Linked DNA regions of Homo sapiens: region 2 is linked to region 1. The links are contacts of gene promoters, found by promoter capture Hi-C in blood cells and fetal thymus (Javierre and others, 2016). All regions are on one chromosome and are shown on one strand. The core of a region is centred on a gene start or on the middle of the fragment in contact, and the rest is flanking DNA. Distances in the headings are between cores, read along the strand shown. Region 1 holds the start of LNPK (lunapark, ER junction formation factor). Region 2 holds the start of RBM45 (RNA binding motif protein 45).

Evidence for each region. Contacts are between HindIII fragments. The CHiCAGO score rates a contact against its expected background, and 5 or more counts as called.
Region 2: a contact is called between the fragment with the promoter of RBM45 here and the fragment with the promoter of LNPK in region 1, in 6 of 17 cell types (activated CD4 T cells, non-activated CD4 T cells, total CD8 T cells and 3 more). The highest score is 9.7, in activated CD4 T cells.

What each region holds. Positions count from the first base shown.
Region 1 is chr2:176,000,638-176,003,649 of GRCh38, reverse strand. LNPK (lunapark, ER junction formation factor) reads left to right here and starts at 1,383. Exons shown (of 13, transcript NM_030650.3): 1 at 1,383-1,490. RefSeq lists an enhancer at 970-1,189. The HindIII fragment of the contact is 1,642 bases long and covers 769-2,410 here.
Region 2 is chr2:178,110,412-178,113,713 of GRCh38, reverse strand. RBM45 (RNA binding motif protein 45) reads right to left here and starts at 1,277. Exons shown (of 10, transcript NM_152945.4): 1 at 868-1,277. The coding sequence starts at 1,167. RefSeq lists an enhancer at 1,072-1,241. The HindIII fragment of the contact is 3,392 bases long and covers 1-1,701 here.

The sequences.
Region 1 (3,012 bases), core at 134-2,633:
TTGCAAAACTGCACAGGACTTTAATACTTTGCAACAGCAAAGGTTGAAAAACAAAACGGTTAAATTTCCACATCAAAACAGGTGAAATGTTTCTGTTCATTTTCTTCTACATTTGGAAAGTGCCTGATCCACAGTGACACGCTAAACTTCAGTTCCCTTCCCCTCATCCTTGCAAGTGTACAGAACTGTAACTAAATATTTAGGCAATTAGGGCAAGCAAATTGCACAGTGAATTATGCGGTAGCTTCTAGTATAATAAATTTTCTTACCAACCAAACAATGCTCAGTTGCTTCTCTTGACAACCTGTTTGCATCGTCAAAGTTTAAATGTAACATATTAAAACTATTACTCTTTAAAAAATCATTGAAACTTTTTTGTGTATAAATAAAAAAATAGAATAAAAATAAATAAAAAATAGAAAAAAACCCATGAAAAATGTTTGCACATGGGGTAAAGCATGTAAAAGGGGTAAAGCATGATAAAAACCTTCGCTGAAGTTTCCCTGCTCACACATTACTGTGTGCACGTCTAGTCTTTTTCTCATTCAGGCATCATTTGTTATTTGTCTTTTCCAGTTGAGGAGGACACTTAATACCGTTTCGGCAGCGTTTCAAATCCGAGTCAAATATAGCCTGAGTGGTTTTTTTGTGGGTCCACCTATCAGGGCCTGTGAAGAGTGTTCTTGGGGTTAAGAGTTCTAAGATAGAAAACTCAGCTTATGCTGTTACCCGCAGGTTTTAAAGCAACATGATACGGCGTTTGAAGCTTACCTCACACCGGTGAGGTAAGCGTCCAGTCATCAAATGACCCTTTTTGACGTCCAAGAGTGACAGAGCCTCAAGCACTCCTGGGGACCGGGCTGACTTTTCTCCACTGGCTTGGTTGGGAACTGGCTTCTTCGGAGCTGTGTAGTCTTAATTTGCTTTGCTGCTGGCTGGCTGACAGCTGATGGGGGACTCCTCAGGACGGACTCCCTTCCAGATGCACCCATCTCCATCCTTCTCAACTCCCCAACCTTTGTCCTCCCCACTCTTCGCTCGCGCGGCGGTCTGAGACCACCAGGACCAGTTTCAGGGGTTTCCTTCTCCAGCGAGACTTGGCAGAACAGGCTTTAAAAGCAAAGGAGGCAGCGGAAGAGTAAGAAATAACTATATTCTAAGAGTCATAATAAATGGCAGTACATAACTGCGACACGACACCGAGCAGCCTAAGCTGGCTGCGGAGGCCACAAACACAAGATCCTAACCTCCCGGCCGACCCGCCCCAACAACTACCCGCCCAGGGTACGGTCACGTGACGGGGGAGCGGCGCGCGCCGACCGCGGCGCCAATTGGCGAGCGGCTGGAGCGCGGGGTTTCATGGGAAGGAGTTGGCCCGGCTTGTCTCTCTGTCAGTGGCGGCTGCTGCCTGCTCTGGAGGCAGGCTGGGCGGTGGCGGCCGAGACTGGCGGGGGTGGACGCCCGGGCCGGGCTGCGCCCGCTTCTTGCAGGTAGAACGCTCAAGGCGAGGGCAGTTGGGAGGGCTCTGCAGCGGGGAGGCATGCTGAGCTGTGCCCCTGGGAAATAAGCTGCGGGTTCCCCGCTTGCCTCTCCTTGGTGCCCCCGCCTCCTGCCAAGTGGCCTAGAGCTCTGCGGCGGCTGCTAGTCAGGCTGCGCGGTGGTCCGCGCAGACCCAGGCTCGCCGCCTTGTTCCCTGGATTTCCCAGCACACTGGCAGTGGTGGCGCTGGAGTCTTGAAACCCTTGTTTCCCCTCTAGGGCTGGTAGTTTCTCCAGCTCGGTTCTAGGAGATTCCGGGTGGTGACTGGCTTGAGCCCCAGCTCTTTGGCCCACTTGTGTCGAGCTTATCTCGACACAGGTGGGGCAAAGAGGTCAGAAGGTCCCAAACTAGCATTTCCTACGCTCAGCTGTCCGCTTTGAGCGTTCTCTCCGCTTCTCTTTCTGAGTTGTGCGGAGGCTCCAAGAGTTAGAAAGACCAGAAGGGACTGAAAACTGTCAGTGTCATGCTGCCGGGCTCTAGCGTGTGGGCGTGGAGTACGTGCTACTTAGAGAAGAGACTCTCCAACCATTGTCCTTATTTCAGGGATGGTGGGCTGTGGGGTGGAGGGGAAGGGCGAAGGTGCATTGTATCAGAGGCGTGGTAGGAGGAGAAAAACAAATCTAAATTCCGTCAGTTCATAGTTTACGGATTGAGAAAGAGTTGAAATTGGTCAACTCAGCTTTGCTGATGGTGCTTTCACAGTACTAAGCAAGACCCGTGAATCACTGAGTTTTCCGTGTTCTGCTTTTCCCAGTTGGCCTCCGGTGTGTGTTGCTCGGTGTCTACTGTTTCCTCCTTTCTTTATGGCCTGGGTGTCAGCATTGACAAAATTGACTCTATTCAACAGCGGTTTGGTGGGTGTGAGTAAGCTTGGTTTCAGGAATATGTTCAAACTGGCAGGGAATGCTCATTTCTTTTCCTCAGCAGCCCCCAGAAGACCAAGTTGACTTTTAACACATTTTCTTAAACAGGAGTGGTGCGTTTAAATTAGAATTTTAAGGTTGTCTGTTATCTATTGAGATCAGCTCAGTAATGATGTTAGTAAACTTATATAGTGTTTATATGTTATATAAACAAGAAAATACAAGAAAAGGAGAAGTTATATGGCTATTAAAAATATATGACTTCACATAGAAACATTTATAATCAAATAGTAATTTTTTGGTGGTATTTAGTTCAGATGAAAATTGACTTACCATGAAAGCAAGCACTAATCATTATATATTAAGAGTGCTTAATATATAATAGAGGTGTACTTTTCATTAAAATTCTTTTTGAGGAGCAATAAATGTGGCTTGGGCTATTTCAGAATTGTCTTTTCAGTTAGGACATTTGAAAGTTAGAATTCTAGAATAAATCACCTTTACTCTTCAATTGTATAGTATAATATGTTATGGAGGTACTGTTGATGGTGATTAAATAGCTTATACTTAACTTTGGAATTTGATAAACATAGAACTTCCTTTGCTGTTT
Region 2 (3,302 bases), core at 28-2,527, 2.1 Mb before region 1:
TAAGCTGTGACATCTTGGCTACTACTGATCAATAACAAGGACATTATTGAGGGCTTACCCTGTGTGAGGCACTGTGCTGACAGCACATATTATGTCAAATAACCCTCAAAATGATCCTTCCTGCCATGTGTCATTATCACAATGATTTGGCTCTTCTTAAGGCAGTTTACTTTGGTCTGCTTTCAAAGAAAAGTTGCAGTAACAGAAAGGGTCAAGAACCAAATGTATGCTATTAACACTTTCAGAAACAGAGCTCATTCAAAACAATTTTCCAAAATAACAAAATGTGAAGAATATGTAACAGTGACCGTTTTAAACACCTGCACTTATTCTTTCTGTACATGTATTCTTTCGCCTGGTACTAGGAAAACGTCCAACACCAGAGGTCCCTCCCCAGTTTAAAGTACTTCTGTCAAGTTGTTAACGCCTCATCTGTACCTGAGGAAAAGTAGAGTTTTTCCGTTTTTTATATATGGAAATCTGGGCATCTGAGAGAGGAAGGTCAGAAAAGTACTCAAAGTAGGCTAGGACGAGTTTGGCAGTGAACTCAAGAGCTGGTGGATTAGTGAGGGCGAGGGAGAGGGGAAGCCCAGCCACTGCTGTTCTGTCACCCGGTGGCCGCGGCTGCCGGGTCCGCTCTCGTGGGGCAAACACTCCGCATCCCGTCCCCTTCCCTGCAACCCGGCGCAGCTTCGTGGGAGGGGAGCCTCTCCTCAAAGCAGCCCCTGTCCCCAAGCCAGGTGCTGTCTGGTCAGCTGCCGGGAACGGATGTTCCACTCCTCCCTCACCCCGGCAGAGCAGCAGGTGAAGGGAGGTCCAAGAGGCCCACTCCTTCCCCCGAGGGCACCCCGACCCGGGCACCCGCACCTTGATGGGCTTGGTGTCGTTGGGGCCGAGGCACTGGCCATGCATCTCCTCCATGGCCCTGCAGGCCTGTGAGCTGCGGGCGAACTTGACGAAAGCAATGCCCTTGGACTCCTTGGTGTGCTTGTCCCGCACCACCCAGATGTCCTGGATGTCGCCAAAAGGCGAGAAGCGCTCCCTCAGCACCGACTCAGGTGTGTACTTGCTGATCACAAGGAAGATGCGGCTGTTGGGCGGTTCGTCCAGGCTGTCCACGCCCGGGCGGAAGCCCCCGCCGCTCGCAGAGCTGCCAGCTTCGTCCATGGTGCTCCACCCGAATGCAGGAGCCTCACTGCTCTTTGCTTCTGCGGTGTCTGCCACCGCTGCTGTCTCACACCCAAGCCTTTGCCGGCTCGGTGCTCCGCTTCCGGGAGAAAGAGGAGTCCGGCGCCAGGCGCTGTCCAGCCGCGCAGGATGAGGCCTTCCGGGGAGCGGCCTGCAGCGCCCCCTGGCGACGCGGGGGACCCTGACCCAGTCTAAGTCTCAAATCCTCAAATCCAGCTGAGCCTAGGCCCAAGTTATCAGTTGTGCAATCGTTCCCTGCAGGCAGAACAGCGCTGCCTAATGCACAGGCTTTCCCAACGCTGGCTTTACCCCACCCCTAAGGCCAAGGATTCTTTCCAGTGTTAAAGAAAAAATTATTCATGACACTCGTTAGAGATGGTACAGGAAGGCCGACTTTGACAAAGGGAGCCATGGAGATAGGTCCAGGGACAGCTGCAATGGGGTCTTGCAGTGGGAGAGAGAGATTGGACTGAATTTTGACTCTAATAAGGACAAATTTCTAACCAAGAAGCTTGGTGGGAGGTCAGTGGATGGAAAATTACAAAGAGGGAACATCAGTGTTAAGGAGGATTCTGGCTAAACCAACTTGACAGGATAGTTGCTGAAGGCAGGCCAGGGTGATTGATATCCATGGTAGTCAGACACCAAGAATGAGGATTTTCACTACACTGATTCAGCAGGATTCTTGCTCAAATTGGATTCTACAAGGACAGAAAGCCCAAGATCAAGCCTAGTCAAGCAGAGGACTCAAAGGAGCCTAACTAAGTTTTGGTCAAAGTGGAGAGTTGTCACCATCTTGGTCATAAGCTCAATAGATGATCAATATAGGACAGAGTTCAAACTATATAGCATTAGAGTTGGAAGGAAGCTTTGAGATCATTCAATTTCAGCGTCATTTGTTAGAGATGAGGAAACTGAGGCCTATAGCATAGCCAAAGTAATAGAGATAAAAAGTACGACTAAAACCAGAACTAACTTGGCCAGGCGCAGTGGCTCACGTCTGTGATCCCAGCACTTTGGGAGGCCGAGGCGGGCGGATCACGAGGTCAGGAGATCGAGACCATCCTGGCTAACACGGTGAAACCCCGTCTCTACCAAAAAAATACAAAAAAATTAGTTTGGCGTGGTGGCGGGCACCTGTAGTCCCAGCTACTCAGGAGGCTGAGGCAGGAGAATGGTGTGAACCCAGGAGGCACAGCTTGCAGTGAGCAGAGTTTGCACCACTGCACTCCAGCCTGGGGGATAGAGCGAGACTCCACCTCAAACAACAACAACAACAACAAAAAACCCAGAACTAACTCCATCTGTTGATTTACTCAACTTCTACAAGCAACCCTGGGGTTGGAGGGCAGTGAGGGTGGACTGCTCAGCTGTGGAACTAAGAGAAATCATAGAGTGCAAGCAAAGTGGGAAATGCCTTCTTGTTAACAAGCCTTAGAGGAGAGGTCAGAAACCCAGTAGAAATCCAGAAACAAGGCCTGGATTTAGCAGTGGCATTGGAATGAAGTGAAAGGAATAAACCCCTAAGTAGACCGAGGGCGGAGTTCTTCAAATGAACAAGTTCTGGATGCTAAGACCTAGGTTGCTATGAAGTCAACCAGATAAATACTTATTGTACTCCAACTGTGTGCCAGGCTCTATGCCAGGAGCTAGATATATAATGAGGAACAGGAAAGACATGTCCCGAGGGCTTGTTTTCCCCCACTGTGGAAATCTTACATGTAAATATATAATGCAAAGTAATATCAGATTATGTTACATGGTTTTGCTACTGAATTGTGTGAGCCTGGACAAGTTACTTAATACTTGCAGCTTCGGTTTCATTAACTGTAAAGTAGGAATAATATTACCTACTAAATAGGTAATACATATTATTTTGTGGTTGGATTAGTTAAGCTTGATAGCCGCCTAATAGCTACGCAGGAGCATGACTATCAAGTTTAATTAATTCACCCATTCACTTAATAAGTATTTTTGACTATCTACTATGTGTTAGGCACTGTGTTATACTGAAGGGATGTAGTATTGAACAAAATAATTACTCTTCTTCCCCCACAGAGTTAATCATTTAGCCTTATATAGTTATGCTCATATAAGATAATATATATGGAGTT